Regions from separate parts of the Homo sapiens genome. Here region 1 is linked to region 2. The links are contacts of gene promoters, found by promoter capture Hi-C in blood cells and fetal thymus (Javierre and others, 2016). All regions are on one chromosome and are shown on one strand. The core of a region is centred on a gene start or on the middle of the fragment in contact, and the rest is flanking DNA. Distances in the headings are between cores, read along the strand shown. Region 1 overlaps SPIRE1 (spire type actin nucleation factor 1). Region 2 holds the start of SEH1L (SEH1 like nucleoporin).

Region 1 (5,528 bases), core at 1,839-4,338, 500 kb before region 2:
ACGCACACATGCTCTAAGACACATCAGACTCTAGCTGAGACCAGCCAGACATTTCTTTTGTTGTTGGATTAGAAGTAAAACTGAACAAGAAACCAGGACACGGAAGGAAGAACTGGAAGCTATGCCTAAAGTCAGACCAGGCTAAGGATTTTAAAACCAAGCTCCACAAGCTCTTAGTGAATTACCCTGTGGAAACTATGTAGCTGACGTGAAGTGTGGAGGGGGGTGGTAGAAAGGGGGGTTAAATGTAAGACTTTGTTTTGGCAACAAAAAATGATAGTAATTTGATTTCTACAACTTTAACTGTGCCATGTGCCCTTTCTTACCCCACTTTCTGCAGATTGTTTCATATGAACGTACCCTCCACGTGACCTCTTTAATGCACTTGGCAAACTCCGTTAATGCTGTTGAAGAATGTATGTTCTGTGCTGTGGTAAGAGGTGATCGTAATGCCCAAATCATCCAATACACTATCATAAAGTGAAGTGAAAGACATGTACTAGATGTTTGCTTTGTGAATGTGAATGAAAGTCTTATTTTGGGGGTGTAGTTTCTTATGTTTTAATAAAAACAGTAGTCATTATTTTAAAAAGCACATTCTCCTAGGTGCATATTTATATACATATACAAATACCATTTCCTTCCCCCTTGTGCCCTTCTGGGTAGTCATTTTAAAAACTCAAGCCTGGGGTCATCAAAAGGGGTAGATTTATACTCCCACCTAACTGTCTGGAGTATAGAGTTCAGATAGTCTCTTAGGAAGTTTTATAAATGAGATTCACCCAGTACAATTCTGAAAGCTCTTAAACAGGAGTCTTTAAAATAATGTAAACACTTAAGTAATCAATAAGGGTTCTCTGGTGGCCCACTTTTACATGCAAATACAGACCAACTGTTAACATGCATTATTTTAGTCAACTGGTAAAGTTTATTTCATAAGTATAAGTAATTTTAAGCCTTTTACTAAACTGTAAATTTCAATCCATTAAAAACTACTACCGGAGCAGTTTTGAGGTATTACTGTTAATTTAGTATAGAAATGTTACTGTATTTTGATGTGGTATGAAATGCAGCCGCCATGCCTTTCATGAAACGGTGCTATCGTGGTGCTGACTACAGACATGTCCTATGGCTTTCAGGAAATTATTGTGCATGTGCATTAACAGATTTTCCAAACATTAATGACAATTTGATTGGTTAGTCATTTGTAAGCATACCAAAATAATACAGTATAGCCCACGTATGAGCCAAACACACTGAGACATTTGAGGCATACAATGCTACCCTCCAGTCTACTTTCGTCAGAAACCAAACCTACTCACTCAAATCATTTACAAGGAAAACTAGTGCAGAAAGCACCCCAAAAATGTTGCCTGTCAGCAGGTTAATTTTCTTCTAACTTTAAAAGAAGTAGATATTTTTTCTTTTAAAATTCATTTATAAAAATAAATTTTAGTTTGAGACCCTAGGTACCAAATTGTGGCTTAATTTACTCAAGATGGATGTACTACAAAGTTATGAAAAATGTAGCTGAAAACCCATGAGCTCCAGCTCATTTCTGCAGCGTGGCCAACAGCTGCCACTGTACACTGTCACAACCCTTCTCATAGGTAACCAAAATACGCTCAACGTCTTGACAAACTTTTAGCCTTCCTTTGTCCTGAAACTCCCACACAACTTTAATTCTTAGACCTCCATTATAAAACTATTAGTAACCATAATACATTCAAGATAGAGAATGAAGACCTGTCATCCACTCAGGAGACACTGAACCAGGGCACTGGGACAACACGGCCACTCAGGGGAAATAGTCACCCTTGTGGGTGTACAGCTCTTCAGATGTTTTGCACTAGAATGCAGGCAAAAAGTCCCTTATGTAATTTTTATCTCCAAGCAACAACATTTAAAAATCAGTTGAAGAGTGTCAGCAGGTGCTTCTAGGTTCTGTGCTGTGAGCCCCCAGGTCGTGGAGTGTAGGGCTCTGGATCTCTCTGTACACGGGATAGAAACACAGTCACGTGGAAATGCCAATATGACTTACTGCTTAGGGCTGTGCTGACATCGGCATCTCTGTTAGACTGATTCTCGTAGGAGAAGCTTTTTTTTTTTGCCTTAGTCAGGAGATTATTCGAGGAACAGTAAAGAACTGAACTAAGGAAGTAGCTACTGGCTTCCAAAGCCACACACACACAAAAGTAAGTTTCAAACTGTTGTCCTCTCTCAGTGCAAACGAGCAATTGGCGGACCTGTCACGTTTCATCAATCGATACGAACACAGCATTCAGTCTGTGGAACAATGTGATGCGGCAAAAATCTGATCTAATGCAAATTCAAGCCCATTAAATAAAACCACAGAAAGGAGAGCCAGCCCGGCTCAGTGTCCTCGCGCACGGACGCTGACTCGTAGCACAAAAGCAGCTGAAAGGCACGAGGCTCAGATCTCACTGATCGTCCTCTCTGAAGGGCAGTACTCCGAGGGGCCTGGCGAGGACATGTAGAAAGACTGCGTTTTCCTTTTCAATCGGGCCCTTTTGTTGGCCAACACCAGACTGCGCCGGCTTGAACTGATGATTTCCGAAATGAACTTCTTGCAGTCCACACACACCTCCATGGTGCTCCAGTCCTCCATCAACTCTTTGGGAAACTGGAGTTCTTCATCTGATTTGTCCATAGACTTAGATTTTGAGGAGAACCTGGGGTGAAAACAAAACAGAAGCCCAGCATTGTTACTTATAGGTCTGCTGCAATATTAAGAAAATATGTATAAAAAAAAGTAAATTTGTTGTCAAAACATCATGGAATGGATGAGTGATTTAATCATATGTCCTTCTAAAAAAATTTCTTATTGGTGACAAGGCTAAAAAATATTACTTAGAAAAGAAAGTAGGAGGCCTAGTGCGGTGGCTCACGCCTGTAATCCCAGCACTTTGGGAGGCTGAGGCAGGCAGATCACCTGAGGTCAGGAGTTTGGCGAAACCCAGTCTCTACTAAAAAAAAAAAAAAAAAATAGCCAGGCATGGTGGTGGGCCCCTGTAATCCCCACTTCTCTGGAGGCTGAGGCGGGAGAATCGCTTGAACCCGGGAGGTGAAGGTTGCAGTGAGCTGAGATGGCACCACTGCACTCTAGCCAGGGTGACAAAAGCGAAACTCTGTCTCAAAAAACAAAAAAAGAAAAGGAAAGAAAGCAGAAAACATGTCTTATTAAGACAGGCACTGCCCAGACTATCGAACAATACAGTCAGGATGGCTAAAGGTGACCCCAAGAAACCAAAGGGCAAGATGTCTGCTTATGCCTTTTTGTGCAGACGTGCAGAGAAGAACATAAGAAGAAGAGCCCAGCGGTCTCTGTCAATTTTGCAGAATTTTCCAAGAAGTGCTCTGAGAGGTGGAAGACAATGTCTGGGAAAGAGAAGTCTAAATTTGATGAAATGGCAAAGGTGGATAAAGTACACTACCACTGGGAAATGAAGGATTATGGACCAGCTAAGGGAGGCAAGAAGAAGGATCCTAATGCCCCGAAAAAGCCACCGTCTGGATTCTTCCTGCTCTGTTCAGAATTCCACCCCAAGATCAAATTCATAAACCCTGGCATCTCTATTGGAGACATGGCAAAAAAGCTGGGTGAGATGCGGAATAACTTAAATGACAGTGAAAAGCAGCCTTACACCACTAAGGCGGCAAAGCTGAAGGAAAAGTATGAGAAGGATGTTTCTGACTATAAGTTGAAAGGAAAGTTTGATGGAGAAAAGGGTCCTGCTAAAGTTGCCCAGAAAAAGGTGGAAGAGGAAGATGAAGATGAACAAGATGAAAAGGAAGAAGGAGGGGAGGAGGAGGAGGAGGAGGAGGATGAATAAGAGACTGTCCATTTGAAAAAAAAAAAAGAAATAATACTAAAAACTCTTAACCACCCTTCTAGAATTCTTGAAAAATAGGGTATTCATCTGATTCCCAATGAACATTAGCTAACTGTAGATGGCAGGTCAGACTACGGGAAATTCAAGTAAATTTATCTTAATCCCATGACACATCCTAAAAACTAAATTTTGACTAGTTTTCTCATCATTTATGTATTTATCAAACAAGCTTCTCCCTCCCCAACAATTCCCTGTATTTGTGCGATTATTTATTGGGATTCCAAGGAGCTGGAGATAACCAGACCAACATCATAGTAAATATTTCCAGGAATGTCTGAGATAACCAGGAATCATCTACTTATTTACTATTTTAACTAAACCAAACAGGATATAAATGGGTAGTCTATAGTATGTTCAGAGTTAAGTATGGAAAACTGTAGCAGCTGTTATGTGCACTGCCTTGAGCTCACTGAAAATTCACACCCAGAGGTCTCAGAGGAGGCAGCCCAAGCACAGAGGCAGACGTTTCAGGCACAAGGTTCATGCTGGGCTCACAGCTTCCTCGCCTCGCTGTCCACAGAGCCAGGACATGTGGTTGGTAGATCAAAGCCCAGCCTCTCGGCCCTGCCAGCTTGAGGCTTGAGCTGGCCTACCTCCTTCCATCTTTCTTAAGGCCCAACACTAAACTTACCCTGCACTAAATGCAAAGGGACTGATACTGAGGTGATGTTTTTTCTTTTAAATTATTAGCTCTTGGCATAAAGCTTTATTTCTGCCTTTACAATAATAGTAAAGTCAGTCAAAGCTATGGCAGAACATTGTAAACAGGATTAAACAGATTCCTTTCAAAACTAGACAAGGAGGAAAGGATGAGACTGTTACATTCCAATTTTCAACTCCATTGAAAACAAGGTCAGTTTTAAAGATGACTCTTACAGGACACAGTAAAACAGTTATTTCTAAAGTAGAAAAAAATATAAACTCTGTGATGAAAGTATCTTTCAAGTAGCTAGCCATTATTCCTTGAAAAGTTACCTTTGGGGAAGTTTTGGAGATTTGTGTGTAAAACTGTATTAAAACCAACCAACAAACCAATAAAAACCCCTCGAGCCAAAACCCTAACACTCTACCACAGTCCTCAAGAGTAGAACTCTTCTTCTGCAAAGGATGGTTTGACAACCCAGGCCCCTTGCTCACCTGGCAATGCTCCGAAGTGGCCGATGATGGGCAGTGGAGGGTTTTTCTGACCTCATACTACTTTCCCCTCTTTGCAGAGCAGAAGGTCCCAATGAAAAGATAGGAAGAGTGGAGTATGGTTTGGAGGGCAGCCGCATCTATTATCCCAAATAAAACTGGCAATGAGCAGTACCGTTAAAGAGGCAGTCACTAAAAGGAACACAAGTATAAATGAACCAAGCTTAGCTTACCTTTTTGCAACACTGTGAGCACACCGGCCTGTAAACAAAATCATAAATGTTATTTGGCATGATACCAGGGGACGCAACTGGGAGTTAGAGAAGCCTATGGCAGTACAGTTGTAAGTTTCCACAATAAACTGCATAACTCTCCCTTCTTCTATTAGAATGTAACAAATTGACACACTGAATTGCCAAAAAGATAATCTACAGAACTTAACTCTTACACTGTCTCCTATAAAAGGATCAACTTACATGT
Region 2 (5,573 bases), core at 2,419-4,918:
GAGTGCAGCGGTGCAATCTCAGCTTACTGCAACCTCTGCCTCCAGGGTTAGAGCGATTCTCCTGCCTCAGCCTCCTGAGTAGCTGAGATTACAGGCGCTCACCAACACGCCCAGCTAATTTTTGTATTTTTAGTAGAAACGGGGTTTCACCATGTTGGCCAGGCTGGTCTTGAACTCCTGACCTCAAGTGATCTGCCCGCCTCAGCCTCCCAAAATGTTGGGATTACAGGTGTGAGCTGCCACGCCCAGCCTTCACTGTAGGTCGTATTCTTTCCAGAATATGAACTGGAAACCTCCAAGCTTGTTTTTCCAGACTCTTATTAGCTCTCTATTTCTAGTTAGGTTCTGAATTGAGAGACAGTAGGGGATTCAGATGCAGGAGGAAGAAGACCTTTTCTCCAATTTGTGGAGGCAGCTCACATAGCTGAGTAGTGGTGGTGGTGGCAATGGGTGAGCCTGGCTTCCTGCTCGGGGGTGATGTGAACAGCAGCAGTAGCAGCAGCACTCAGCCCTAGCTCCAGCAGTACTAGCAGAGGCTCCAGGAACCTCAGCTGTTCAGAGCTTGTGGGCTCCCATGGCTGTTACTCTGTTGGACGCCTGCAGTGTAAGCTGGAGTATTGGCTCCTGGCTTTCTGCCTGCTGGTGGTAAAGGTGCCAATGTCAGCAGCCTCAGAGTCAATGATGGTAGCACTGGGTAAAACTATTTTCCCTTTCACGCTCCCAGCCCAGAGTTTCCCGTAGTTACTAGTCTCTGGGTAATCTCACATGTTCCCTTTTTGCTCTTAATTAACCCCTTGGATATATATGTAACCAGTTTCCTGTGTTAAATTCTCTCTCTCTTTTTTTTTTTTTTTTGAGATAGTGTCTCCCTGCGTTGCCCAGGATGGAGTCCTGTGGCACAATCTCGGTTCCACCACCACTCCTGGGGCATTTTTTTGTATTTTTATTTTGTATTTTTAGTAGAGAAGCGGGTCTCGCCACGTTGCCCAGGCTGGTCTTGAACTCCTGAGCTCAGATAATCTGCCCGTCTCGGCCTCCCAAAGTGCTGGATTACAGGGTAATTTAGCCACCAGGCCTGGCTGACACGACCACTTTGGAAGACAGTTTGTAAGTTTCTTATAAAACCAGGCCAGGCACAGTGGCTCATGCCTGTAATCCAAGCACTTTGGGAGGCCAAGGCAAGAGGATCGCTTGAGCCCAAGAGTTTGAGACCAGCCTGCTCAACATGGTGAAACCCCATCTCTGCAAAAAACAGAAAAATTAGCTGGGTGTGGTGGCACTGTGCCTGTAGTCCCAGCTGCTCGGGAGGCTGAGGTGGGAGGATCATCTGAACCCAGGGAATTTAAAGCTGCAGTGAGCCACGATTGTCTGCCATGACAGAGTGAGACCCTGTCTCAAAAAACAAAACAAAACCCCAAAAAACAAAACTAAACTTACTCTTACAATATGATCCAGCAATCATGCTTCTTGGTATCTACCCAAAGGAGTTGCGAACATGTCCACACAAAAACCTGTACACAGATGTTTGTAGGAGCTTTATTGATAATTGCCCAAACACAGAAACAACCAGAATGCCCTTTAGTTGGGGAATGAATAAACACTGTTACAGCCTGACAATGGAATATTATTCAGCACTAAAAAGAAATGAACTCTCAAGACAAGACATGGAGAAAGCTTAAATGCATATTACTATAAGGAAAGAAGCCAATCTGAAAAGGCTAGCCACTCCAAGATTCCCATTATATGCCATTCTGGAAAAGTCAAAACCATGCAGTCAGTGGAAAGATCAGCGGTTGCCAGGTGTTGTCGGAAGAAAGGGATGAACAGGAGCACTAAGGATTTTCAGGGCAGTCAAACTATTCCGCGTGATACTATAATGGTGGATCCATGTCATTATATATTTGCCAAAACCCACAGAATAAAACACCAAGAGTGAACCCTAATGCAAACTCTGAATTTTGGGTGATAATGATGTGTCAATGTAGGTTCACTGATCATAACAAAGGTACCACTTTGGTATGGGATGTTGACAGTGGAGGATGCTGTGCATGTGTGACAGTAGGGGTACATACGGGAACTCTATTTTCTGCTCAATTTTGCTGTGAACCTGAAAGTGTTCTAAAAACTAAAGTCTATTTTAAAAAATCCACTGTTTCACCTAATTCAACACTTCACTCCCACTCTGATAATCTCTGGCAACCAATGATCTGTTTACTGTCTGTATTTAAATTTAATTAAAACAATTTTTAAACTGTTTTGATATTTTTATAATAATCAATATATTTTGATTGGACTTTTATAGTGAGCACTTTCTTTGGAAATGAGTGTCTTTGACCTTCAAAAAAGTTATAGTTGTTATCAGTTATCATAAGAGGTGGGGCCCACCTCTTAAAGTAGCAATAAAATCTTATTTATGGTTGAAAAAGGTCAGGTCATTGCGCCACTTCTCTTTGCAGGTTTCTGTGCAATCCATCAGGGGACAGCTGGGACTAATCATTTAAAAAACTTTCCAGCCTGCTAATTTTACCATACCTCACATTTTTGTCATTCCTGGCCAAAATCCAAAGGGCAAGTCCCTTCTGCAGCCTCATTTTTTTTTTTTCTGTACTTTCGCTCCCCTGACGCAAGCTTCCACTGTCTCCCATCCTAACTTTACCACTACGCCCTCTAGAATGCCTTTTCCTGATAAGCAAAACCCCCCGAGTCGTTGGCTCCTCCACTTTCCGGTTTTGGCAGAATCCTTGATCTGAGCCAGGCCTCTTCCCAGGGGCTCTGGCCCTCTTCACTTCCTTTTCCCCGGAGGACTCTGGCTCCCGGGTAGCAAGCAGCCCACTTCCCCGGCCGCTTCCTTCCCCCGGGATGACACGTTTCTACAGGCGGACTCTTCTAATTCATACTATTTCCCTACCCCCGTGGTGGCTCCTAGCACCCCCAGGCCTGTTCTACCTGTAAAATCTTGACACATTTAAACTACTACTTCTGATCCTTTCCTCCCCGTCCAGCCTTCGCTCTTAGGCTGCCGAGCCTGGACTGCTTGTCATCCCCTCAGGCGTCTCCCCGGCCCTCCCTGCTCTTCAGCCGTCCCGACGGAGCGCGGCTCCTGACCAAACCCACGGTTCGTCTTCTCCACCTGCTCCGCGCGCCTCGCATGTGTCTGGGGGGAAACACATCCAAACGTCGACTTAAATGATTCAGGGCCGAGGACCGTGAGAGGCAGTCTTCACTTTTTCATCTTTCTTCATTTGCACAGTATACCAATAAGCTCTTACTACTTCTCAGCACAGGTAACTCGCCTTTTGCAGAGCACCCTCCGCCGCCGAACGGTCAGAGCCTGGAGGAACCCGCACCAGGATCGTAGGGCATGACGGGCCGGGGGCGGGACGAGGATTGACGAGCCGGGAACAGGGCGGGGCTTGAGGGGGCGGGAGGGTGGGGCGAGGCATGACGGCTCTGGTGGGAGGGTAGGCGGGGCTTGACGGGCCTGGGGGCGGGGCGGGGCTTGAGGGACCGGAAGGTGGGGCGAGTCATGACGGGCCGGGGCGTGGGCAGGGCTTGAGGGGCCAGGGGACTGTGTGGGGCCTGACGGGCCGGTGGGTGGGGCGGGGCTTGAAGGACCGGAGGGTGTGTGGGCGGGGCTTGATAGGCAGGGGCGGTGCGGGGGCGTGGGCAGCACAAGCCGTGCGCTCCCGGGCTGCGAGGTCTGGCTAGGCTACGGGCCACGCGCCGCCGCCGCTGCCGCCGCCACTGTCCTCTTCGGAGGCGCGGGCCCGACGGAAACCATGTTTGTGGCTCGCAGCATCGCGGCGGACCACAAGGATCTCATCCACGATGTCTCTTTCGACTTCCACGGGCGGCGGATGGCAACCTGCTCCAGCGATCAGAGCGTTAAGGTGCGCGCGGCGCTTGCGGGCGGGGCCGACCCCGGAAGGAAGGAAGGGGAGTGGGTGGGCGGCGCGGGGAACGGGGCTGTGTCTTGGTTCAGTGACGCCGCTGGAAGCTGTGGGGTGGCGGGCGAGCCCTGGCTGGACTGAGCGGAAGCCCTCCCCGCCCGCGTATTGTGGGGTCACGGCGGCCTCGCGGGCCGCCCTCCCGTGCGCCTGCGCAGCTGGTGCCACGTGCGCGCTCCCGCCCGCAGGGTACGCCGGGCCCTCTCCCAGGCCGCGCTGCCGGGGCTGCGGGCGGGAACCCAGGGGCATCCCACCGTCAGCCTCGGCGTCGTGGGTCTTGCCCGCGCTGTTCACCCGACGACCTGCAGTGGGACCTGGTGGGAGACTTTGCCTGGCTGGCGCTGCGTCGAGTTCTGTGCCCCGCCGGTGTTCTCTCACCAGGGCACATGGTTTTCTCCGTGGGTTCAGAGCAGAAGCTCACTTTGTTACGCCGAGGAAGAAAAATACAAACCATTTACATCCAATGATTTCCCTGCTTGCTGCCCAGGAATCGGAGGGTTTGTTTCTTGAAGTTCCCGTAAACGTCTGTAGACACTTCCGACAAGCAGAATTTCTTTTCTTTTTTTTTTTTTTTTTTTGAGACCGAGTCTCACTCTGTCACCCAGGCTGGAGTGCAATGGCACGATCTCGGCTCACTGCAACGTCCGCCTCCCGCTTTCAGGCGATTATCCTGCCCCAGCCTCCCAAGTAGCAGGGATTACAGGTGCACGCCACCACCCCCGGCTAATCTTTTTTTTTTTTTGTATTTTTTAGTAGAGACAGAGTTTCACCATGTGGGCCAGGCTGGTCTCGAACTCCTGACCTCGTGATCCACCCGCCTCGGCGCCTCGGCCTCCCAAAGTGCTGGGATTACAGGCGTGAGCCACCGCGCCCGGCCTACAAGCAGAATTTCTAATGTGGGGATGCTACATGAGATTTAGGAACCTCCCAGATGTGTTGCAGGATGAATGAAAGCTGGAGTGCGGATTATTTGGTTCTCGACAACTCCAGAGTAACTGGAAATCTGAAGGATAGTTTATCCTTTTTCACATTCGAGTTTGATACCAGTGATCTCTCAAAGATAAACTTTTTATAAATAGTGTTGCAATTTTTAAAAGATGTAGTTTCTTTTTTAAAACAAGTTTATTTTTGTTGTAATAAACTACGTTAACCGTTTTTTTTTTTTTTTTTTTTTTTTTTTTGAGACGGAGTCTTGCTCTGTCACCCAGGCTGGAGTGGGGTGGCGCAATCTTGGCTCACTGCAAGCTCCGCCTCCCGGGTTCACGCCATTCTCCTGCCTCAGCCTCCCAAGTAGCTGGGACTACAGGCGCCCGCCACCACGCCCGGCTAATTTTTTGTATTTTTTAGTAGAGACAGGGTTTCACCATGTTAGCCAGGATGGTCTCTATCTCCTGACCTCGTGATCCGCCCACCTCGGCCTCCCAAAGTGCTAGGATTACGGGCGTGAGCCACCGCGCCCGGCCCACGTTAACCGTTTTAAAGTGTAGAATTCAGTGGCATAGAGCACAGCATTCACATTTTTGTGCAGCGTCGCCCCTGCCCATCTCCAGAACCTTTTCATCATCCTAAACTGAAACTCTGTACCCAAGAGCACCCTGTTCCGCCACCCCATCCTCTGGTAACCTC

The links. The method cuts DNA at HindIII sites, captures the fragments that hold promoters and counts their contacts. A CHiCAGO score of 5 or more calls a contact.
Region 1: a fragment that was not itself captured here is called in contact with the fragment with the promoter of SEH1L in region 2 in 1 of 17 cell types (M0 macrophages); the score reaches 5.7 in M0 macrophages.

What each region holds. Positions count from the first base shown.
Region 1 is chr18:12,447,204-12,452,731 of GRCh38, forward strand. SPIRE1 (spire type actin nucleation factor 1) reads right to left here. Exons shown (of 17, transcript NM_001128626.2): 15 at 5,282-5,309; 16 at 5,052-5,188; 17 at 1-2,693. The coding sequence ends at 2,435. LOC105371998 (a long non-coding RNA gene) reads left to right here. Exons shown (of 6, transcript NR_136514.1): 6 at 341-595. It also overlaps the pseudogene HMGB3P28. Among named protein-coding and RNA genes, the nearest start is that of PRELID3A, 42 kb to the left of the region's middle. The HindIII fragment of the contact is 1,986 bases long and covers 2,096-4,081 here.
Region 2 is chr18:12,944,343-12,949,915 of GRCh38, forward strand. SEH1L (SEH1 like nucleoporin) reads left to right here and starts at 3,669. Exons shown (of 9, transcript NM_001013437.2): 1 at 3,669-3,890. The coding sequence starts at 3,780. RefSeq lists silencers at 3,367-3,816, 3,857-4,206, 4,217-4,316 and an enhancer at 4,248-4,849. The HindIII fragment of the contact is 15,085 bases long and covers 2,627-5,573 here.